Regions from separate parts of the Homo sapiens genome. Here all the other regions are linked to region 2. Evidence: promoter capture Hi-C in 16 types of primary human blood cells and fetal thymus (Javierre and others, 2016). All regions are on one chromosome and are shown on one strand. Each heading gives the region's core, a stretch centred on a gene start or on the middle of the fragment in contact. The rest is flanking DNA. Distances are from core to core; before and after follow the strand shown.

Region 1 (5,602 bases), core at 1,377-3,876, 2.1 Mb before region 2:
GCCAAGAAGGAGCTGGGCCTGCGGAGACCTGAGGAAGAGCATTCCAGGCAGAGAGAAGAGCAAGGGCACAAAGTGCTGAGGTGGGAAAGCATTTGGCAAGAAAGAAGATGCTTGCAGGAGGAGCACTGTGAACCCTGGGGAGTGTGGGATGAGGAGAGGAGCAGGAGTGAGTTCCATGCATGTTCCCAAACTCTGTGCTGAGGTGTTCTTGGAGCTGCTGTGGATTCAGAGGGGCTCTTTGAGATATTTTAAAGGCCAAAGGCAACACTCAACTTTTGTTGGGCTCCATGCAAACTACTAAGTAGTGCAGGATAGCTTGAAGACTCAATATTAGATTGCCCTACAGTTTTTTTTTTTTTTCCTTGAGATGGTGTCTCACTCTGTTGCCCAGGCTGGAGTGCAGTGGTGTGATCTTGGCTCACTGCAACCTCCGCCTCCCAGGTTTAAGAGATTCTCCTGCCTCAGCCTCCTGAGTAGCTGAGAATACAGGCACATGCCACCACGCCCAGCTAATTTTTGTATTTTTAGTAGAGATGGGGTTTCTCTACTACTACCATGTTGGTTGAGCTGGTCTCGAACTCCTGACCTCAAGTGATTCACCTGCCTTGGCCTTTCAAAGTGCTGGGATTACAGGTGTGAGCCACCACGCCTAGCCTGCCCTACATGTTTTTTGATAAAACCATATTTTTCTGAAGCTACATTTTCAGTTTTTGTCATTTGCTGTGACATAAAACACGTACCATGGGAAAATCAATATAGAATAGGAAATGAGGGCGGCAGCGTCTAATCCAATTCCAAGGTCTGAGAAGTTGCGCAGTGCTCAACAAGCACACACATCCCGTTAGTGAGAAGTTGTGGCTAAGAATGAGATAAGTTTTTTTTTCTAGTTTATATGCAATATTTTTTCTAGTGGCTACTAGTTGTTAGGACAGAAATACTTCTTACTTGGGTCTAGCTACTTAATACACAGAACAGTCAGGTATTTCTTTAGGCCTAGGGTTACTGTGAAAAAAAGCATTGAGACATTAAGGGCATGATAAACAGACAAGGTTAGAAACTCCCGGGCTAGGTGATGAGCTGTCATGAAATCTTTCTCATTTCAAGCGCACAACTTCATATTGTTGCCTTTTCATAGACCCAGGGGTGTGTGTTTCTGTGCATTTGTGGATAACCTGAAAACGTCGTCTAGATTTTGTAACTGGGAGGGTCCCCAACCTGCCTGACCATTAGGATCACCTGGGGGAACTTTGCAAAAATAGTTCCCTGGCCTCTGCCCAGGGGATTCTAATTCAGTGGGTCTGACATTTGAATCTGAGTTCAAAGATCTCTGCTCCAACTCGCATTCTTTCAGGCAGCCAGGATGGCCCAAGTGGAGCCGGCCTGCCCAGATTTGGGGGTCCTAGTTGTTATACGTTGTGCCTGGGGCCAGGCTGTGTGGCTTTTTCGGATCCCCAAGACTGGGAAGGGGCGTGGAGCACGTGTCCGTTGGAACCCTGGGGGAGGTCGGTGCTGGAAGCGCTCATCTCCACCTCCAGTCTGGGTGCGCTGCGTGAGTGACCCGAAAGGAAGATGATTCTTGCCGTAGGAAGCCCCTGCCAGGACAGTCACCACCTCCCAGGCCCAGTGGACTCGGACCCGAGCGTCCTCCGGGAGGGTTTCTGGGGCGTGGCGGCTGAGCGCGGTTCGGGGAGACGCGGCCGGGAGGTGGCAGCAGCGGCCCTCTGGCAGACACGGTGCGTGCCGGGGGGCGGGGACGCGGGCGGCTCCGGGCGGGCGTGGTCCCTCTTGCGGGCGCCTGGGCTGGTCGGGCGGATCCCGGAGAGGGGGAGCCGCGGGGACGCAGCGACAGACTCGGGGTGCTGGCAGCGGCAGCCCACGCCTCCCAGGGATTGCAGGCCTGGGCGCCGGGGTTGGACCAGTCTCCCGGGCATGGCACGCCCTGGTTATTCTGTACCCGTGATTTGTGGCGGGGCAAGACGTTAAGTTGGGTGACACCGAGGTGAGCCACGGTCCTCGGCACCAGATGAGGAACCACTGTCTCAATAAGGTGTGACATGGAAAATGTGTGTGTCTTATGTGTGACTGAAAAATACCTCCTTTGCTGACGTCTAAAATTTCACTATTAGAGATGCATTCTTTTGTCCTAAAGATTATTCTCTATTCAAGGCCCTGGGAGGGAGCAGTGCATTAGAACTTGAACTCTTTAGGGTGAGAATGATTTAATCTTATCTTTGTCGGCGAGGGAAGGGTTAGCCCTCAGTGCTCAAGACACAAAGAGGACTGAAGGCGCATTAATTGGTACTTGCTAATCAAGCCTTAGAGACCAGAGCACTCCAGGGGAATTTTACTTTGGAGAGAAATCTCATTGGCCCTGGAGCAGCCCTGTATCCACTTTGTGAATGTTTTAGAGAGGGTTAATGGGGTACTAGCACAGTGTGATTAGTTCAGTTCATTGGATTATCATTTTGTAAAAGAGGCAGCATCTTTACTAGTACTCTAATAAATTATAAAATTATTATATCCATTTCTGTTCCTTGTACCTTCTTTCTTTGAATTAAGAAAATGGTGTGGTAAGGTACAGTGAACTTTTGAGCCAGAAATTCCTGGCTTGGAGACCCCTCTCTGCCATCTGTTGACTGGCTCTGTAATTCTGGAAAACACCCTTTCTAAACTTCAGTTTTCTCATCTGTAAAATGGGAAAAATGCTGCCTACTTGGATGGTGATTGTGAGCATTAAATTAAATTCTGGAGGGAAAATATCTGGTATTTGTGTACTGATTTCAGGTCTCAGTGCTGTGTGTGTAATGGTTACCGTGAGAGCTTCCCTGCAATCCGAATTTGTGTGTCTCATTCTCAGTGACACCAGTGATGCTGTTAAACAAGGACAATCCGGTTCATGGATTGTGACAACGCACGCTGACATCAAGCAGACCCTGCCGTCAGGTACAGAGGGCACCACAGTGACCAGGAACTGCTGTCCTTTCATACCAGGTTTTAGGAGGCTTTACCAGAAGGAATGGAAAATGCTGGTGGGCAGTAAGATTGAAACAGCATCTGAGGACTGGTTCTGCACAAAACCTTAAATTCTTCAAGGACTTTGACATTTGTTTATTCTTGTAACAAATTAAAACCTATCCTGTGTGTTGGTTAGAGATCTTCAAACTGTAAATACCTTGAGGCAGGAGTGAGGTTTTTATCTTTTAAAGGACAGGCCCCTACTCTCCTACGTAATGAGTTTCTAAAAATGGATGTGAGCACCAATCAATATTTCTCTGGTTGTTAAAGTCAAGAATAAAATGGTATTTTTAAGCTCGCAACTGTGTAGGATGAATTCTGTACACTTTTATTTCCCTCTGTTCTCCTTTCCTATTTGAAAGTTTATTAGTTTGTGGACTTGGGATCGGATTATTCATGCATTATTTTTTGATGTTGTATGTCTCTTGGTTCTTGGGTATTTTTGACACATATTCTGTCTTGTAACCATAGTTAAACAATTGTTTTAGACCAACTCTCTGTGTGTAATTGGCTTCAACACTCACTGCTAGTCCTTTGACGCTCTGTTTTTTTCCATTCTTGAGTAATTTTAAGTCATCACTTGGGCAGTTGAAATATATTTTAAAGTGATTTAAAGAATATGTGAGTGGCAGACATTCTGAACTCTTTTGGTTGTCTGTCCTCAAAAACTAAAACTTATTTGTGAGTAAAATTTTCATCTAAGTGTTTTCCATATAAAAACTCTGTCAGCTACTGCTCCATTGTAGTAGACACAAAAAAGTCAGCACAATTTTCATCCCTCCCTCCCTCCCTTCTCTTCCCCTTCCCCTTCTTGCCCTCCTTCCTTCCTTCCTTCTTTCCTTCCTTCCTTCCTTCCTTCCTTCCTTCCTTCCTTCCTTCCTTTTTCTTTTGTTTCTGAATGTACAAAGAAAACACTTAAAAATTTGCTTGTAATTTAAAAACTTGTCAGGATATTTCTGGATTTGAGTGTTTCTTGGTTACTTTTACCTGGAACCTGGTGAACTGAGTCCATTCCTCTGTTTGCCCTTTCTGTACTTTTTTGGAAAGTTTTCTTTAATTATATCTTCAATTATTGTTTCTCTTTTGATTGTTCTAGATTCTTCTTCAGAAACATAACTCTTAGGCTCAATCTCTATTCCTGGTCTTCCATAGCTATCGTCTTCTTTTTAAAGTACTGTATTTTATTGAATCTAAGCTAGTATTTGTTGTAAGAAGCACTATTATTATATGTACAACTAAGGAAGAAAAAATGCTGCCAATTAAACTGTGACATAATGCCATGATTACAGTCCTGTGAAATTGGTAAGTTGCTCACACCATTCTCTCTCTTATTTTGATAGACTTCATCTATTTTGAGGGACTTGGCAGTTGCTCCTGCCTTTGGTTGCATTGTTTGGCATGTGACAGGCAATTCTTTTTGCATGAGTCTCAGTTACAAAACATAACACAGTTTCTACTTAAGGATACCTTCTTTTCTTGGGTCCTGTCAAGCACTTAGTTTAAAAAAAAAAAAAGAATTGCAGTGGTTGGTCCAATAATAGACATTTGCTTCAGTAATATCAAATTACATCCTGCTGCTTGAATTCCATGCCTTTCTGCATACATAATAACTTCTCATTTCAATGCCAAACCATAGTGTAATCTTTTAAAAGACATTTTAAATGGCAATTAAACTCACATGTAATTGCAACAATGTATACAACTCAATTAAAGTGCTAACAACATGAACAACTGAGACCAAGTTCACCCATGCCCAGGTCTTGATGACCTCACCATGGCAGCTCCCTGGCCCAGGGTGATTATAAGATGCCAGTGATTGCAAGACTTGGCCTGATTTCAGAAGTGATGATGTGGCAACACAGACATCTTAGAATTAAGGAAATAGTTTTAATTCTTGGTGCTCTTTCTTGGCATTCTGAAAGTGTTCCTCCAGTTTGCCATCTAAGATATTCCTTAGTTTTCTGCCATGTCCATTTCACTCATTTACTCCTTCCTATATGACTTTTAATTATTGTTTAATAATTTAATTTTCTTGGGAATATCTTTCTCTTGTTACAACCAGTTTCCTTTATATCTTTTCTTGGACTCCATTGGCCAAATTCTCTTTCATAAGCCTGAAGCCCCTAATATTTACCCTGAGACTGTATTCTAGTTAGTAGAATGTGAATGGAGGTGATGTGTGTGACATATAGGACTTCCCCATAAGAGCCTTTAATGAGTTGTCCTCTGTTCTCTTTCCCCTCTTCCAGCTGAGTGCCATGAGAGGACAGTGACAACCTTGGGGCCTCATGGTGAAGGTGGCAGAAACTTTGTTAGCCTGGGTGCTCAGGGTGGACAGCTGCTCTTGCCAACCGGGAACATTTGCCTTGAGCTCTTTTGTAAGTGACAGATAAGCTTTTATTGTACTTCAGCCAAGATACAAACATTGGACGTATTTGTACAGCAGCTAAAGGTACTATAATAATACATATTCTGAAATCACTATGTACCCTAAAATATTTTAACAAAATTCTTGCAATATTTGTATGAGAACTGCTGGATTTTGCTTTCTTACCAAATTTGCTGTTGCTACTGAAAAAAGAGAATA
Region 2 (6,430 bases), core at 137-2,636:
GTGATTCCTATTCACTTAGTAGCCTCCCCATCTAGAATATACTCCGTGATCTTTCTTGATGGCCAGACTGTGTAAAATTCATACAGTGTTTACTACAGGGATCCCCAAATATTGTTAGTTGAATGAACAAACACACATTTCAAGGAGGGCACTACAGTGAGTAGATGAACAGTTTTCTGATAGGAGATTGTACAAGTAATGTTTTCACCAGTGTATTTTAGGACAGCAGATTCAGATTAATGCGCTGGGACTGAATGCAAATAGTAAAATTACAAATATAAAGTAAAAATTTGGAACCTTTGCCAAAGAAAGGAATAATAAATTGATTTAATAATTTGAAAGAACTGTAAGGTTTAGGTTTTGTTCTTATTTTTAGTGCGACTGAGATTGGAGTCTGTTTGTAGACATATCTGAAAAAAGTGAAGGGGGAGATGGAAGATGGTAAATGCCAAGGAAAAGATGGAAGGATAAATCAGTGTAATAAAAAGGAGCACTTCTTTTTCGCCAACAGAAGTAAAGGTAAAGGTTAAGTGTCTGAGTTAACGAATGGATTGTTGACCTCTGGGGAGGGTGCTCCCATCAGCTCAGCTTTGTGACGACCTAAGAATATCCCTTCCACACCTTTCCTGATCCAATCGTTCTGGCTGCATAAAACCACCTAAATCAATCAACTGTTACACTTCCCTTAGTGCTAGGACATATTCATATAACTCCCACGTATTAAATGAAAATACATCCATCTAAAAATAAAACAACACGATTGCTGCTACACCAAGAAAGGATTTTAAAAAGGCCTGTTCACAAGCTAAGTGAGGGCCAGAGGAAAGGTGTTCGTTTAAACTGAAATTCGAGCTGCGATAACACCTCCTAATGCAATCAAACGCTGTTGCAGCACACTTCTTAGGAGATCGGGTTCAACGGCAGGGATTGGGTAAGGTGAGAATCTGGCTTGGCGGCTCCGGCCCCGGCCATCTGGTTCCCTTGGGCTCCGGCCGCCACCATCCACTCGACGGCTCTCGGCCCGAACGCTTGGTCGCACCGCCTGCCGAGGTCCTAGATGAATCGCTTCAGGCCTGGAAACGAGGAAGCCGTCTCCGGAGACCATCGCCAACGCTGACGCCCGCGGTCTGAGGTCGCCATGGGAAGAGCGGTAGGCCACCCTGCTCCTCTGATCACCGGAGGACAGGGACACATTGTTCAGGGCCATATTCAAACACTGCCCGCAGTACTTGCGTTACGTCCCTTTGTGAAGGCAGGCCCTTCGCGGCTCCCCAGATCAGTCCAGCCTGTGTCGGACCCGATGACTAAGCACACAGGAACCCATAACTGAGCCTGCGGAAGAGCCAGAAGCCGCCTTGCCTTTAACGAGGGGTATCCTGGCGAGCATGCGCAGACCGTCCGCGCACGTCGTCGCCCGCTGAGAGCAAGCGCAACGGGCGTTTTCGTTTGTGACGCCAGGGAGCGTGAGGACGTGGGGCTTCCGTGAATGCGCAGTGGGTGCGTCGGCCACGACCTTTTGGCCAGGTTAGGGAGGGGGCGACGCTGAGATGGGGGCGGCGGCGGCGGAAGCGGATCGCACTCTCTTTGTGGGCAACCTTGAAACGAAAGTGACCGAGGAGCTCCTTTTCGAGCTTTTCCACCAGGTAAGCGGCTGGGTTCGGCCCTTTGCCTTTCGTTTTCCGTCTCGCCTAGGGCCTGGCCAGCGGCCACCCCGTTTTCTTTTCGTAGCCGTCAGGGGACCCGACGGGTGGCTGTTTGGGGGTGAAAGGCGGGTCTGGGTTGCGAAACGCTCGCTGGGTGTCGCTTTCCTGGAAGATCTTGGTTCGTTTAGGCCGAAAGTGACGACTAAAGGTGGTGGAGGGATCCTCGATCAGGTTTCCCGTGGTAGAGATCCAGGGGTCCTTGGGAACACAGTGTGTGTGTAGGGTCTTCGTTGAGCAGTGCTTTTTCTTATCCTTCCTGTTGTCATCTTCCCCTTAGGATAATTTGTCTTTGGTTTATCTGACTGGGAACTTAATATTTTAATTTATTTGTGTCTGTTTTCCCCTAAAGTTTGCTTATCAAATTGCAGCATTATTAAAATATGTAAAATAAAATGGTTAAGTACTCCGTAGAAAAACAGCATTTTAGTGTTGCTGTATTAAAAAGTGTGAAAAATTCTGAGTATCCTATTCCCCCCATCCCTATCCCCTAATAACTGGTATTGTTTGATTAATCAATACAAAAGTCCGTTTTTAGTTAAAGAAAATCATTCTCTTGTTCTTGATAAATGTTCATTTTCATGGAGTGGCAAAATAATGGCGATTGGTCACTATGTTAAGCCATACAGTGCTGTGAATTGCAAAAGTGATTGTGTTTCCAGTTCCTTATGGGCCCCCTTCCCCAAATAAATCTAATGTTCAGTCATAACTAGGATGTTTACTGTAGCCAAAATGGAAATCCGTGCATCATTTTCAAAAGAAGTTTCTGATTACGTTTCTGTTGTTTTTAAACTTTGTCATATCTTATTTGTAAAATTTGAGTATTTTCCCTTAGTTGCTTTATTTAAATTCTAAACACCTTTTTGTTTGTAGGCTGGGCCAGTAATAAAGGTGAAAATTCCAAAAGATAAGGATGGTAAACCAAAGCAGTTTGCGTTTGTGAATTTCAAACATGAAGTGTCTGTTCCTTATGCAATGAATCTACTTAATGGAATCAAACTTTATGGAAGGCCTATCAAAATTCAATTTAGATCAGGTAACTGCCCAATGAGGTTCGGGGGGCATTGTTTCCTGCTGTTTTTAAATTTATTATTCAGTTTTAAAGAACCTCTTATTTGTAGATGAAACTTCTTTCTTAAGCATTGTGAATAGTAAACTTTATATAGCAAACTTTATATATCCCTGAAAACGGGTAACATTGACACATGGATTTTGAAATTAGAATTTCAAAACTGAGCTTAAAGTTTCATTTTGGGTTAGTGAAAAAACATAAACTGTATCACTAAGAGAGCTGGGCTTGGGTACTCTGAAAAGAGCTAGGTTTATTTTCTGAAAATACTTCTCCTGGCTGCTTTGTAATTACTTTTATATATTTTGGTTCTTGATCATGTGAGGATGAAACTGTCCATGTATCCAGTGTTACAATTTAGGGTGGAGATCAGAAAATTATGGTCAGATTGGATATTTATGGAGTGCTTTGTTTTGCTTATCTGATATTATACACTTATAATTTTCACCCCGATGAAGCCGTAAAGCGGTCTACAGCAGCTTGAGATTCTTTTTTTTTTTTTTTTTTTTTTTTTTTTTTTTTTTTTTTGAGATGGAGTCTTGCCCTGTTGCCTAGGCTGGAGTGCAGTGGTGCAATTTCAGCTCACTGCAACCTCTGCCTCCCAGGTTCAAGTGATTCTCCTGCCTTAGCCTCCTGAGTAGCTGGGATTACAGGTGCACGCCACCACGCCTGGCTAATTCTTTGTATTTTTAGTAGAGGTGGGGTTTCACCATGTTGGTCAGGCTGGTCTCGAACTCCTGGCCTCGAGAGATGTGCCCACGTCAGCCTCCCAAAGTGCTGGGATTACAGGCGTCAGCCACCGCGCCCGGCCAGTAGTTTGAGATTTTTCTCTTTTAGATTGTGTTTACCTTTTTGGAGTGATTTCAAGTGGGGAAGACAAAATTTCAAATTAGATTTTCTATCAAGAATAATTTTTCAAATTGTTTCATTTTAGGAAGTAGTCATGCCCCACAAGATGTCAGTTTGTCATATCCCCAACATCATGTTGGAAATTCAAGCCCTACCTCCACATCTCCTAGCAGGTAATATTTCTCACTTATTGTTAAGATCATTTATCAGGAATTCTTATAGGGAATAGCCTCAAAACACATGAGTAAATAGTCTCCTTCATTATTCTCTTATCTCTTCATTCTGCCGTTATTACTTGCCTTTTGGGGTTGTTGTTATGTATCTATTCTAAGGGGTATAGAATGTGTCTATTCTATAGACAAACACATTGTATATAGTCCCCTTAGAATAGATACGTATATAACTATTTGTTGATTTGTAGCGACATAACCATACCCACATATGTGTACAGTACATGTATACACTTGAAACAAAATTTCTCAAAACATTATTTACCCTCACTACTTGGATTACTATTTCATTTAAAACATTTTAAAATTTATTTTACAGTCATTAATTGGTTGTTACTTACAGTTGAAAAATACCAGTTAGTCAACAGTCTATTGGACTAAGAATTCCTAGAATTGGATTCTAGGTCTGCATCTATCAATTGTGTAATCTTGAGCTAGTCTCCTTTCTTTAGTCCCGTCTTCCCATGTGTAAGGAAAATAAGTTGAATTAAATGATTTGTAAAATCTCTTCAGGTACTGAGTATTAGAAAATATCATATTTACTTAAATGATTTTATTTGCTTTGGGGAGGTTCATATTTTACCAGGGACAATTTTTCCCGGTATATCCATAAAGCTATTTAACAGTCATTTAAGAAAGATTTAATAAATACCTGCCATATGTCAGGTTCTTCACCATATCTTTTACATATATGATTTCATTTATTCCTCACAGCAGTTTTATGAGGGTAGGGATTATTTTTATCTCTACCTCTTATATGAAGGGAAATGAAAAATGGAGGTTAACTTGCTCAGGTTCAGTGGGCTGGGATTCAAACCCAGGCAGTGTAGTGTGATTGAGCCCAGCCACTATGATGTATTATCTAGAGGAGCTTAAAGTCTAAATGAAGACACATATTATATATATTTTTGTGAATACCTGTTCAATTACTGTAATAAGTTCTCTAAAGAAAGAGTACAAAGGGCTTTGAGAAAATTTTAAGAGAAGGAGATGATATAGATGAATGTGGAACTGAAAGAAGCCAGTGTACCTAGATCATAATGAATGAAAATGGAGAGCAGTAGGGGATTTTGGTAGATAGGCTGGAGAGGGTCTTTTAAACTATAATCAGGATTTTGAGATTTTACCCTAAAATGGAGTAGGAAGGCAGTGAAATGTTTTAGGTAGGGTACTGATAGGAACAAGTTTATATTTTAAGAGTTGTTTGGTTGCAGTGGGAGAATGGATTGGAGGGGGCAAGAGTGAAAATAGAGCAGTGAGGAAGCTTTTGGTAGCAAGGCATTGATGTTGGAAGCTATTGATGGATGAGGTTGATAGTTTAGATTAAGGTGGTGCCATGAGCTGGAGAGAAGTGGATGGATATGAAGAGATACTAGAAAGTGGAATAGTGAGCCAGCAATAGTGCAAAAAGTGTACCCTCCCGGTGTTCTTTCTTGCCAGCTGAAATTAATTAACAGTGTTTAAACATTTCTTGGTAAAGTTGGCATTTAAAGCACTTCCAGCCCCTTTAATGGAGTCTTCAAAGGCATCCTAGGTAGAGGAAAATAAAAAGTTTTCCCTCTTAGAATTTCTTGGGGAGAAAAAACCAGGTGCAGTGACCCATTCGTATAGTCCCAGCTACTTGGAAGGCTGTGGTGGGAGGACCACTTGAGGCCTTGAGTTTGGGACTAGCCTAGGCAACATAACAAGGCACTCTCTCTATTTAAAGAATTTCTTTGAAAAAAAAAAAGTACAAGTAAATACTTTGGTTTTAATCAAAGGCTAGAGAGTTTATAATTTTTATACTATAAACTAAATTGTACTGCCCCCCTCAGCATACAGATAATATAACCTGATTTGAAAAAACGCAAAATTAAAAGATCCAAAGTGTAAGACCAGCCAATTGGCTATTTGATTCTAAAGACATTTAAAAATAATTTAAAACATTTTTAAAGTGAGCTTTTCTGTAGAGCAAGTTATCCCTTTAATAAATAGGGAATAAGGTATAAATCCTCAAAAGTAATATCCTATGTATGTTACAGAACTCTTAATTCCTTACCTCCCAAAACCTCTTTCTCTTTTTTGTCTCGGGAAATATCTACCTAATTGCTCAAGCCAAGTCTAGATTTGATCCTTTGTTTCTTCCCTCATTCCACATATCCAGTCGATCAAATTCTTTTCATTTTAGTTTTCAATCTAGGTCTTTGCATTAGCTCAGGGACTGACAAATTATTTCTAGAAAGGACCATATAGTTAATATTTTAGACTTTGCAGAAGATACTGTTTCTGTCTCTGCCATTGTAGCACTAAAGTAGCCATAGATAATACAAAAACAATGGTGTGGCTATGTTCCAGTAACACTTTGTTTAGGGAAAACTGAATTTGGCAGTTTGGCCCACTGGCTATACTTGCTCACCCCTGCACTAGTCCTTCAGCTGGGAAGTTTTTGCCTCTAGGTAACCTTGGTGTTCAGTTCTAACTACAAATGTCACCTTTTTAGAAAGGCAGTCGCTCACCAGCTAAAAGATAGGGGAACCTCCTATCTGTTTCACTTCCACTTGATCTTTAATCATACGTTTTATCACTTAAAATCATGAGAAAAT
Region 3 (6,396 bases), core at 1-2,500, 2.3 Mb before region 2:
GCTTTTCAGTTGGGCCTGACCCACTTCTCTTCCAGGAAAGCGCCCGCCTTCCTTCTGCACCCGTCAACCTCTGGAGTGTCCTGAAAACCCTCCCTTGTGGGAGTCTCTGGGCTGCCTGTTGGTGGGACGATTTCTCAGGAGCACGACTTCCGGCCTGAAAAGGAAGTCTCCTCCTTTTTCTCCCAAACCACTTCTTCCCCCCTACCCCCCGCCACGCGAGGCTGCGGCGCACGGTATGGGTGTGTTTGTGTGTATTTGTGTGGGGAGGGCGTTTGGAGGGAAGGTTACCGGGAGCTCCGAGGCCGCTGGGGAACAGGGATCCCGGTGACAAAGATGGGGATATTTCCTCTGTCTTCCACTTGGAAACCTCAACCCCCGCTTCAGGCTCCCTAGATACTTTCTGGGGCCCAACCGAAGGCCGTAGCCATCCAAAGCGTTCCCAGCCTTTCTGGGGAGTGAAACTTACCCCCGGGGTTCGTCCTAGAGGAGCGTGAGCGGGGAATGCCCAGGTCAACCGGGCTGTCCGAATTCCGCCCCGGCTCAGCCTCCGGCCTCAGTCCGGGAGAGAGATCTGCCTGTCGGTCTGGGCTGGGGGAAACGCGGCAGTGGCCTGGGCCACAGGTGAGGGCAGAGTAACCAGTGGGAAGGCTGCGTTTTCACGAAGGACTCGGGTGAAGCTGCAGAGCTGCCTTTGAGCCCTGACTCCTTGGCTTCCTGGGTCGGAGGAGATCTTGTAATGGAGTGGTTCTTCGTCTCACTAGCAAGATGCCTGATTTCCTCAGGATCAAGGGGTGAGTGAGCGTTGGGGTGGTTGCACAAAGCTCCTGCTAGCTACACACGAAAATATTCTTGTCATCTAGTTTTTGGAAGCTTCCGTAGCAAGTAGGAAATAAAATGCCCCCAAATGGAGAAATTTAGGACATCTTTGCATTTGATGTTTTGAGTAATCAGTTTCTGTTACTGTTGACACCCGTGGTTCCTGACACTCTCAAATCTACGTATTTGCTTCAGTGCAAACTATATTGGGATTGGAGGTTTGATTTTTAATTTAGACAGTGACATACATCATTTGCCTGGGACTATGTGGCTTGGGACGTTACAGCTTTAAGGGAACTTCATCTACAAAATAGGGATGGAGATACTTGCCTCATATAAAAAGTAGTTATGAGGATTAAATAAAATGGTGCTCATGAAAGCACTTAATTTTATGTAGTCTTGTGCATTTTCAAAGAACTTTAATGTACATTATCTCCTTTCATCTCACATTAGTGTGTTTAGGCATTTCCCTCTTTTAATGGTAAAGGGAAAACTATTCTTTAGAATCTCTGACTTCTAGTTCAGTGATCTTTCCTGTACCTCATATGCTTCTTTATAAAACTTCAAGAAAAGATAAAGTAATAACAGAAATTATTACTAAACGTTATTTGTTGATTCATTTCAGATTGAAGAATGTCCCGGATTCCACTGGGGAAGGTCCTCCTGAGGAATGTCATCCGGCACACAGATGCTCACAATAAGGTGGGAGGTACAACCTAGTTACTCCTCAACGCTTACTGAAGGCAAGCAGTGTGCCAAGCATTATTTTGGAACAACTGGGAGATACAAAGAATATTCTTGTCATCTAGTTTTTGGAAGCTTCCGTACACAGTAGGAAATAAAATGATGAATAAAATAGATAATTATAATACAGTTTGATAAGTACTGTATAACAGAGATATTTGCAAAGTGCTTTGGAGCACTAAGGAGGAAATAATAAAATCTACACTGGGGAATTAGAAAAGATTTTACAGAATTAGTGGTATTTCAGCTGCTGATCTTTGAACTGGTTCTTGAATAGGTATACGTTTACCAGGTATGAAATATCATTCTGGATAGACAGCATCATGCATTAATATGGCAACGAGAAAGAGCATTAATCACTTGGGGCATGGCAAGAAATTTATCCAGAAAGCAGGGAAGGTAGGGGATAGTGGCAGAAGATAAGGCCTCAGTGGTAATTAGAGTTGGATTGTGATGTTTGGAGCTGAGACTTCTTCCTCTAGGCAATAAAGAAGCCATCAAATGTTTTTAAACAGGGTGTGGCATGATCATAGTTATATTTTAGAAAGATGGTTTGTCAGCTGGGTAGGGAATGAATCAGATGGGGAGATACAGAAGGGAGAGTAATTAGGAGGCAATTGCAGTATTACAGGTGAGAGATGATGAGGGTTCGCATGAAATTAGTGACAGCAGGGATGAAGAAGAGGAATTTAGGAGATAGAATCCAAAGAAGTTGGTGGCTAATTAGATTATAATGATAAGAATGGAATCTAATTCAGTTGACCCTTGAACAATGCAGGGGCTAGGGGCATCAACCCCCTGCATAGTCGAAAATCCATGTATAACTTTTTACTCCCTCAAAATGTAAGTGCCAATAGCCTACTACTGACTGAAAGCCATAGCGATACCATAAACAGTGGATTAACACATATTTTTTATGTTACATGTATTATATACTGTATTCTTATAGTAAAGTAGCTAGAGAAAACAACATTTCATTAAGAAAATCACATTGAGTAGGCTGAGGAGGAAGAAGAGGGACTTGTTTTGCTATCTTACAGGTGGCAGAGGTGGAAGAAAATCTGAGGATAAGTGGACCTGCACAGTTGAGATTCCTGTTGTTCAAGGTCAACTGTGTAACCACCTATGTGACTGGGTAGATGATGACAATTCTGTTAATTGAGATAAAGAACAAAAAATGGGACAATTATGATAGGAAAGGTAATTAGTTTGGTTTTCAACATGTTGATGGTGAGGTGCTTATAGGATGTCCAAGCAGTTGAAAATTCAGACTTGGAGTAGAGGAGAAAAGTTGGGGCTGGACATAAAGGTTTCGGGATTATTGATGTATAGGTTGATGATAAGAGGTCATGAGAGTAGATGAGGTCACCTAGGAGAGCACATATAATGAAAAGAGGGCCAAGGCCCCTGGTTTAGTTTTCTTCAGTAAACTGTACTACTTTTGGTTTGATCATATTATTATTATCATATCACCTGATTTTTAAAATTATGGGCGAGGGTAAAACTGTTACCCGAGCTGCCTATGCAATTATGTTAACCTGCCCCTAGTTATATAGTAAGCTTAGATTTAAAATGGTAGCTAGAAAAAGATAAATCTAGCACAGATCTAATGAAATTATGCAGGAAGACTTAGAAATAAAATGTGTTCTTTGGGTAATCACATTCTGCTTTTCAAGAAATTCCCTAGCAGCCATACTGATTATTTTATTTTATTTTATTTTTGACAAAAATTATAATATTACCAGAAGAGATTTAGCTTAGGGAGTTTAAAGACCTGTCCTTACTAGTTTTTTGACTTTGTTAAAATCTCTGAGCTTTTGTTTCTTTACAGTAAAATGTAATAATGGTAGCTGCTATATTTTCCTCATGAGATTGCTTAAGGTTCAATTGAGATGATATAATTAAAATCATATTGCATTTTGGAAATGTGGCATTATCATTTGCTAATCGCAGCATAATTGCAAGATTGATAAGGTGATGTTTGTCTGTGCAGCGGTTTAAAAATTCTATTGGGGAAGATTTCCACATATTTGAGATTTACTGGATTGGACTGTTCAGCCACTTTCTAGAGAAACCAATTTGTTTTCCAGGTTCCTGATCATAGCCCAGTCTGTAGCCCAATAATTAGTCAGATTGTATTTTCAGTTAGTTGCTTTTTTTTTTTTTTCTTTTTTTGTTGATACAGAGTCTCACTCCATCGCCCAGGCTGGAGTGCAGTGGTGCAATCTCGGCTCACTGCAACCTCTGCCTCCAGGGTTCAAGCGATTCTCCTGCCTCAGCCTCCTGAGTAGCTGGGATTACAGGTGCATGCTACCACGCCCGGCTAATTTTTGTATTTTTATTAGAGACGGGGTTTCACCATGTTGGTCAGGCTGGTGTCAAACTCTTGACCTCATGATCTGCCTGCTTTGGCCTCCCAAAGTGCTGGGATTACAGGTGTGAGCCACTGTGCCCGGCCAGTTAGTTACTTTTCTGTAATGTAAAGTTATTTTTAGTAACTTATTTTTATTTCCTTTTTAAAAATTCTAGATTCAGGAGGAATCAGATATGTGGAAAATAAGAGAACTGGAAAAACAGATGGAAGATGCTTACCGGGGGACCAAAAGGAAAATGCTACCCAGCAGTTCAAGGTGAAGTTGCAGCTCTGAGAACTAAAATAATTCTCATCTTTTTCAGAATCATCAACTTTTGTTTAAAAATACTTTGGTATATTAAGGATAAATTCAGTTCTGTGAGTCCTTAAGCCTTCCTTCTTTCGTAAATCTAGACCCAGGCATAAAGATAATGGCTGTGACGCATATGGCCCTGCTCTTTGTACTTATTTACAATGGAGAGTTAAAAAATTCTACCTGAACAATTATGAATGTGTAGGGTTCTGTGGATTCTAACCTTACCTGATAGCTTTTAACTGAAGATTTTATACTGGAATCTTGTGGTCACTAAGCTGATCAGTCATTCTATTCTCTATTAATCTTTCATTCTTTCAGGCTTTTCTTTTTGTAGCTGGAACTGCAGGTGCATGCCACTATGCCTAGCTACTTTTTTTTTGTAGAGGTGGTGTCTTGCTGTGTTCCCCAGGCTGGTATAGAATCCTGGGCTCACGCAGTCCTCCCACCTCAACCTCCCAGTGTTGGGATTATAAGCATGAGCCACTTGCCTGGCCTCAGACTTTTCTTCACCCTGTCTATTCACCCTCTTCACCAGATCAACAGCCTTTTCACATTACCTTAATAGCTTGAGTGTAAATATGAAGGATTATGCAGGCTTAGTTATCTTCCTTGTGGAGAGGCCTAGGAATGCTTGAATAATTGGGAAGATCCTTACACGCTTGTAAGTGTAAGAGCTACATATATAAGAAATACTTAAACTCTTTAGGAGCAGGGCTTGTGATTTTCTCATTTGCTGCTATATTCCTGCCAGCTAGACCAGTACCTGGTACATAGGAGGCCCTTACAATTTTTTTTTTTTTTTTTTTTTGAGATGGAGTTTCGCTTTTGTTACCCAGGCTGGAGTGCAATGGTGTGGTCTTGGCTCACTGCAACCTCCGCCTCCTGGATTCAGCCAATTCTTCTGCCTCAGCCTCCCAATCAGCTGGGATTACAGGCACCTGCCACCACGCCTGGCTAATTTTTGTATTTTTAGTAGAGACAGGGTTTCACCATGTTGGCCAGGCTGGTCTTGAACTCCTGAGCTCAAAGTGATCCACCCACCTCGGCCTCCCAAAGTGCTGGGATTACAGGCGTGAGCCACTGGACCTGGCCCCTTAAAAATTTTTGATAACCGATTAGCAGCTTACTGGCTAGTTAGTAGAAATGGTAAACAGAAGCTGGATCAGTGGTTCTCAACTTTTTTCCTACTCCAGTATTCCCATGGGTTAGACCTTGTTCCCACTGTTATTGGGACCTCTCTATAGTAAGTTGCTGGTTTGCACAGAGGGAAGTGTATTTCAGAATCTCTAGGGTAGTTTGAAGTGTCCCTTGCTATGATTATGTTCTGCTTCCCTCTTTGCATGCCCTCCTAGTTGAGAATCAGCGAGTGAACTATCACATGACATAGTCCAGAGTTGATTTCATCTCTCTATGCTTTGCAATAGGATGGGTACTAATGGTCAGATTTTTTTCTTTTTTTCTTTTTTTTTTTTCCTGAGACGGAGTCTCACTCTGTTGCCCAGGCTGGAGTACAATGGCATGATCTGGGCTCACTGCAACCTCTGCCTCCCCGGGTTCAGGCAATTTTCCTGCCTCAGCCTTCCAAGTAGCTGGGACTATAGGCGTGTGCCACCACACCTAACTACTTTTTTTGTATTTTTAGCAGAGACAGGGTTTCACCATGTCCCCCAGGCTGGTCTTGAACTCCTGACCCCAAGTGATCCACTCGCCCCGGCCTCCCAAAGTGCTGGGATTACAGGCATGAGCCACTGCACCTGGCCTGGTCAGATTTTTTTCCACTGGACTTTACAAATGTACAGAGGAACAGATAATCAAAGTGCTGGGATTACAGGCATGAGCTACTGCACTAGGCCTGGTCAGATTTCTTCCACTGGACTTCACAAATGTATAGAGAGGAGCAGATAATGTCTTTGCCTTTTTTTTTTTTTTTTTTAAACAGTATCATGTTGTTTCCTTCCCCCTCAGCTTGTTCCATGAGTTTTGTGCATGATGTTCCATAAAGTAAACTCACAGATTGCTTTTACATCTAAAAGTTCTTCTGCTTTCTCTTTTAGCCGGATGCGCAGTGATGGTTTTGATGAAGAAAGTCAAAGATACTATTGGAGGCCAAAGAATGAAATTTCTGGGACACTGGAAGATGATTTTCTTAAGGCTAAATCCTGGAATA
Region 4 (6,079 bases), core at 3,483-5,982, 2.2 Mb before region 2:
CAATGGGGTAGATGAGACAAACATCTGAAAATGTATGGAGAGTGTTTGCTAAATAACCTGTTAGTAGTTTAATGCAGAACAAACAGAATATATAGCTGTAAATAGGAGATATTTGAGGGAAATCACCATTTGAGCTTATTTCTATCGCCCCCATGATTTTATCTTTCTTTTTACAGGAAACTTTTCCAAGCCTGTTATTAATCAGTGACTTGTCCTGCTTTTCATCATATACAGTGATGATTTTTCTCATATAGAGTGGAGCTGTCCTCTCCAGTACCTGGAACAATGCCAGCCACATAGTAGATGCCCAATAAATATTTAGTGAAAGAGTGAATGGAAGCAAGAGGTGACATGATTCTGGGAACTGTGTGTAGTTTGGTTACTCTTGTGAGTAGATGTGAGGAAACAAGATCCTTTCACTCTCAATGTGTCTACACTGGCAGAAGAATTGCTAATATGTGTTTAGGGGTGTCTGTATTCACACTATGCCAACCCAGAGTAATAAATGGGTCCATACATGCTTGTGGATAAGAATGGCTTTAGAATTTCCCTTAGTAAGGATCATTACACAACAGTCCAAAGGACTGTTGTCACGTGGTCCTATTTGTGCTCTCAAATTCTTGCTCTTTAAAAATTTTTTTTTAAAGAAACGGTATTAATCCTAAGCAAAAAGAACAAAGCTGGAGGCATCACGCTACCTGACTTCGAACTATACTACAAGCCTACAGTAACAAAAACAGCATGGTATGGGTACCAAAACAGATATATACACCAATGGAACACAACAGAGGCCTCAGAAATAACACCACACATCTACAACCATCTGATCTTAGACAAACCTGATAAAAACAAGAAATGGGGAAAGGATTCCCTATTAAATAAATGGTGCTGGGAAAACTGGCTAGCCATATGTAGAAAGCTGAAACTGGATCCCTTCCTTACACCTTACACAAAAATTAACTCAAGATGGATTAAAGACTTAAATATCAGACCGAAAACCATAAAAACCCTAGAAGAAAGCCTAGGCAATGCCATTCAGGACATAGGCATGGGCAAGGACTTCATGACTACAACACCAAAAGCAATGGCAACAAAAGCCAAAATAGACAAAAGGGATCTAATTAAACTAAAGAGCTTCTGTACGGCAAAAGAATCTACCATCAGAGTGAACAGGCAACCTACAGAATGGGAGAAAATTTTTGCAATCTACCCATCTGACAAAGGGCTAATATCCAGAATCTACAAAGAACTTAAACAAATTTATAAGAAAAAAAATCAAACAACCCCATCAAAAAGTGGGCAAAGCATATGAACAGACACTTCTCAAAAGAAGACATTTCTGCAGCCAACAGACACATGAAAAAATGCTCATCATCACTGGCCATCAGAGAAATGCCAATCAAAACCACAATGAGATACCATTTCACACCAGTTAGAATGGCGATCATTAAAAAGTTGGGAAACAACAGATGTTGGAGAGGATGTGGAGAAATAGGAATGCTTTTACACTGTTGGTGGGAGTGTAAATGAGTTCAACCATTGTGGAAGACAGTGTGACGATTCCTCAAGGATCTAGAACTAGAAATATCATTTGACCCAGCCATCCCATTACTGGGTATATACCCAAAGGATTATAAATCATGCTACTTTAAAGACACATGCACCTGTATGTTTATTGTGGCACTATTCACAATTGCAAAGACTTGGAACCAACCCAAATGTCCATTAATGATAGACTGGATTAAGAAAATGTGGCACATGTACACCATGGAATATTATGCAGCCATAAAAACGATGAATTCATGTCCTTTGCAGGGACATGGATGAAGCTGGAAACCATCATTCTCAGCAAACTATCACAAGGACAGAAAACCAAACACTGCATGTTCTCACCCATAGGTGGGAATCAAACAATGAGAACACATGGACACAGGGTGGGGAACATCACACACCGGTGCCTGTCAGGGAGTAGGGGGCTGGGGGAGGGATAGCATTAGGAGAAATACCTAATGTAAATGACGAGTTGATGGGTGCAGCAAACCAACATAACACATGAATACCTATGTAACAAACCTGCACGTTGTGCACATGTACCCTAGAACTTAAAGTATAATAATAATTAAAAAGAAAAAAGAAAAAGAGAAACGAGGGTCTTGCTCTATTGCCCAGGTTGGACTCCTGGGCTGAAGTGATCCCTCTCCTTCTCAATAGCTGGGGCTACAGGAGTGCGTCACCACGCCCGCCTGGCTCAATTCCTGCTCCTTTTGGTCTATAAAGCGGACTGTGGCCCTGGGGTTCATCCGATTGAGTCACCAGTCACTGGAGCTTTACAGGAGAGAGTGGGAGAGGAGGCTCAGAGAGGTCACTCAGGACCCAAAGTGTGCCCAGACGGGCCCTAACTACGTGGCGTGACCTCAGGCGGGGCAAACAGATCAAGGACACAGGGTCCCCACCCACCCTGACCACTCCAGGGTATGCTTAGGTATCCCAAATCTTGCTCTCCGAAGAGATTCAGATAGCGAGAGACACCCTTAACTGTCTCCCGAGGCCGGGATTGGCCAGAGCGGAAGCGGAGACGCACTTCCTAGGGGCGCGTCTGGCACGCACTGCGCAGCCGCGGTGGGAGGAGGCACCGGCCGCGCGGCGGGAGGAGGTGCCGGCCGAGCACCGCAGACAGCGCCGGGAAGATGAGCACGGAAGGTGGTGGCCGTCGCTGCCAGGCACAAGTGTCCCGCCGCATCTCCTTCAGCGCGAGCCACCGATTGTACAGGTAGGGTGTGCACACAGGTACAGCGGCGGGCGGTGGGCGCCGGGCCCCGGAACGTCACCGGGGCGGGGCCGGCGGGCGTGCTGACGTCGGGCCCGGGAGGGGCGCGGGGGCTGCTGGGGCGACGCGCGCTGGTCGGCTTCGTGGGGCTTCGGACGGCCTCCAGCATCCTGATGGGGGCTGGAGTGTCCCCAGCCCTGGAGGGGTGGGGGAGCTTGATGGTTAACGGAGCCGACTGCGGAGGGCGATGGCCCACGTCTGGGTGCGGGGCCCACACCCGGTTCTGCGACTCGAAGAAACGTCTCTGCCCCTAGGAGTCCCTTGGTGTAGACCACAGGGTTGCTGTGAAACTCAGCAGTGTTAAACTCGCCTATGTTACACAGTACCTGGCGCGGCGTAGACACTCAGTAAATGTTAGCTAATCTTGTATGCCAGGAGCATTGGCCACCATATCTAATGTAATTACAAGGCAAATTTTAGCCCCTTTTTTACCAAAGACTGGATGAACCCAGTCCCTGGTGGTCTAGTGGCTAGGAGAAAAAAAAAAAAAAATGAGCCCAGACGTTCAGTTTCCGAAGCAGCATAGTTGGGATTTGAATCCCGATCATACATACTGCTTGCATGCACTGACGAGTTGATTTTGAGGAATTTTACCACGCACTAACCAGCTCCACCCTCTGGCCCTCCGTATCGTCGTCTGTGAAATGAGGATGACCATCGCTATCTAACAGGATTCATCCCTCCATTCGCTAAACCAGGTTTTGTTTCGTGCTTGTCAGGGCTTGTGCTAGGTAACGGATGCATCAGGGATCTTGTATGGGGTTTCCAATCTGGCCTATTTTGTGGAGGGTACACTGAGAAAATTTTGTGCAAAAGACTTTAGCACTCTAAATACAAGAAGTGGCTGAGCAGGAGAAAGTGGGGGTGTGTTATTCCATTTTGCATTGCCACAAAGGAATACTGAGACTGGTATTTTATAAAGAAAAGAGGTTTATTTGGTTCTGCAGGCTGTACAAGAAGCATGGCACCAGCATCTGCTTCTGTTGAGGCCTCAGGGACCTTCCACTCATGGTGGAAGGCGAAGGGCGAGCAAGCAGGCAACTCACAGGGCAAGTGAGGGAGCAAGAGAGAGGAGAGGAGGTGCCAGGCTTTTTTTAACAACCAGCTCGCCCATTGACTAATAGAGCGAGAACTCACTCATTGCTTCAGGGAGGGCACCAAGCCATTCATAAGGGATCCACTTCCATGAGCCAAACATCTCCCACTAGGCCCCATCTCCAACACTGGGGATCACATTTCAACATGACAATTGGAGGGGACAAACATCCAAACTACATTGGGGGGAATAATAAAGAGGATCTCAAAAAAAAGGGGTTGTATAATAAGCTTAAACACCTGAGGGTGGTAAGGTCTCATAGACGATGCGAAATTGAATGGATGGGTATAAGTATAAACATTAAGCAATTTGTTTTCTGTCTGAGACGACAGCCAAAGATTGTAATTTTAAAAATTCACCTGCTTGGAATATTCCTCAACAGATTGGTAAAGTTCTCATGAGGCAGTAGTTGAGACATAGTATAAAGCAAGATTGCTAAATAGGAGACTTACCAGGTCATGTAATTTTTTTAAATTATTTTTTCTGGATGAGTAGTTTAGCTTCTGAGAGAAATGAGATAGTAAGCCACTTTGCGGATCACCATCTATGTTTATCATTATATGCTGTTATTTCATTCAGCACTTGCCTGTTACATTGTAGGCACTCAGTAATGTTGAATTGAAAAGTGGAAGGCCCATGAGCAGATCAGTTGCTGTGGAACAAGGGGGTTGAAGTTAAGGTTTGTTTGTGCTAATTTGTATGGTACAATCTTCTAATTAGGGAATATGCCATGGTTTGTGACGTATACGTAAGTAATAAAATCAACATGATTTCTGACTCTCCCTTTGGTGAGCTAAAGTAATAAATTGGGAAACTTTTCAAAGATCAGTACAAATAATAAATATAAGGAACAGAGAAGGGGGTTTGAATGTGATACTTGTGTCATGCTGACTTTTTTTTTTTTTTTTGGTCAGTAAATTTCTAAGTGATGAAGAAAACTTGAAACTGTTTGGGAAATGCAACAATCCAAATGGCCATGGGCACAATTATAAAGGTGAGAGAAAAACTGATGACATTTCAGCCCTTCAATAAGGATGAAAGAGTATTCAGCAAATGTAGACATAAAGAATGGGAAAACTTACGGACACAGTGTGAATGCTTTGAGCCTTGAATGAGAAATTAAATGGGAGTTCAGAATGAAAGGATCTGTTGTCTTGGTTGGGTGTGTGTTAAGTTTTACCTTGCAATGTCAACTCTTACAAACAGTCCAAAACAATGAATGGTTTAAAGCATTTTTCTTTGTCCTAGAGTACACAACAAGTTTCTTTCTGATTAGGTATGGCCAAGGCTAATGTTAAAATTAGATTTTATTCTTTGAGTAAATAATGACTGACAAAAGGGGAATGTTGCCTAGGAATGTAATGTATGGCAGAAAAATAGGTTTGGTCTAAAGCTTTGCCAGCAGTGTTCGAAGAAAGTAGGTAATTTGTTCAAGGATAAGAGACTTGATTCTTTGAGGTACAGCCTGCCTTAAAAAACAGGTACATAAGTCGTAGAGTATAAAACAGTATGTGGTGTGGTGGCATAAAAAAAAACAGACAAGGTGTCAGGAGATTAGGATTACTGGTTTAGCTACAGCCTCTTCCTTAATCTATGGTATCTCAGTCTCAGTGTACTCACTTACATGTAATATCTAATGGTATTTGTACAGAACTAAAATACATAAATTCATAAAAGTTATTAATGTGTAAAGCACTGATAAAGTTTTTTTTTGTTGTTGTTGTTTTTTTTTTTGAGATGGAGTTCCACTCTTTTTGCCCAGGCTGGAATGGTGTGATCTCCCGTCACTACAACCTCCACCTCCCAGGTTCGAGCGATTCTCCAGCCTCAGCCTCCCGAGTAGCTGAGATTACAGGCGCCCGCCACTATGCCTGGCTAATTTTTGTATTTTTAGTAGAGATGGGGTTTCACCATGTTGGCCAGGCTGCTCTCAAACTCCAGACCTCAGGTGATCTGCCCGCCTCGGCCTCCCGAAGTGCTGGGATTACAGGCTTGAGCCACCACGCCTGGCCAAGATTTTTCAAATGCTTCTCACAAGCACTTTTTAATTTACAAAGCATTACTTTAGACTTTGTATACATTCATGTGAGTAAGGGGACAAGAATTTAAGGCCCAGTAGTATTGCTTGTTCAGAAAGGTACTGCTCAGTATTGGAC

The links. Contacts are between HindIII fragments. The CHiCAGO score rates a contact against its expected background, and 5 or more counts as called.
Region 1: a contact is called between a fragment that was not itself captured here and the fragment with the promoter of C11orf71 in region 2, in 1 of 17 cell types (activated CD4 T cells). The highest score is 6.2, in activated CD4 T cells.
Region 3: a fragment that was not itself captured here is called in contact with the fragment with the promoter of C11orf71 in region 2 in 1 of 17 cell types (fetal thymus); the score reaches 7.2 in fetal thymus.
Region 4: a fragment that was not itself captured here is called in contact with the fragment with the promoter of C11orf71 in region 2 in 4 of 17 cell types (activated CD4 T cells, non-activated CD4 T cells, total CD8 T cells and 1 more); the score reaches 9.2 in activated CD4 T cells.

What each region holds. Positions count from the first base shown.
Region 1 is chr11:112,288,463-112,294,064 of GRCh38, forward strand. LINC02762 (long intergenic non-protein coding RNA 2762) reads left to right here. Exons shown (of 4, transcript NR_126004.1): 2 at 5,265-5,467. Among named protein-coding and RNA genes, the nearest start is that of LINC02762, 21 kb to the left of the region's middle. RefSeq lists a silencer at 1,608-1,917 and an enhancer at 1,714-2,462. The HindIII fragment of the contact is 5,561 bases long and covers 1-5,407 here.
Region 2 is chr11:114,399,125-114,405,554 of GRCh38, forward strand. C11orf71 (chromosome 11 open reading frame 71) reads right to left here and starts at 1,387. Exons shown (of 1, transcript NM_001271562.2): 1 at 1-1,387. The coding sequence starts at 1,207. The coding sequence ends at 836. It overlaps RBM7 (RNA binding motif protein 7), which reads left to right and starts at 1,542. Exons shown (of 5, transcript NM_001286045.2): 1 at 1,542-1,643; 2 at 2,574-2,736; 3 at 3,704-3,791. The coding sequence starts at 1,548. RefSeq lists enhancers at 629-1,171, 885-1,274, 1,172-1,714. The HindIII fragment of the contact is 8,162 bases long and covers 1-5,110 here.
Region 3 is chr11:112,074,126-112,080,521 of GRCh38, forward strand. It overlaps NKAPD1 (NKAP domain containing 1), which reads left to right and starts at 174. Exons shown (of 6, transcript NM_018195.4): 1 at 174-791; 2 at 1,442-1,518; 3 at 4,090-4,190; 4 at 6,284-6,396. The coding sequence starts at 1,450. RefSeq lists enhancers at 1-26, 437-556, 617-666. The HindIII fragment of the contact is 765 bases long and covers 869-1,633 here.
Region 4 is chr11:112,223,757-112,229,835 of GRCh38, forward strand. PTS (6-pyruvoyltetrahydropterin synthase) reads left to right here and starts at 2,672. Exons shown (of 6, transcript NM_000317.3): 1 at 2,672-2,770; 2 at 4,838-4,917. The coding sequence starts at 2,688. RefSeq lists silencers at 2,543-2,952, 3,310-3,604. The HindIII fragment of the contact is 1,163 bases long and covers 4,152-5,314 here.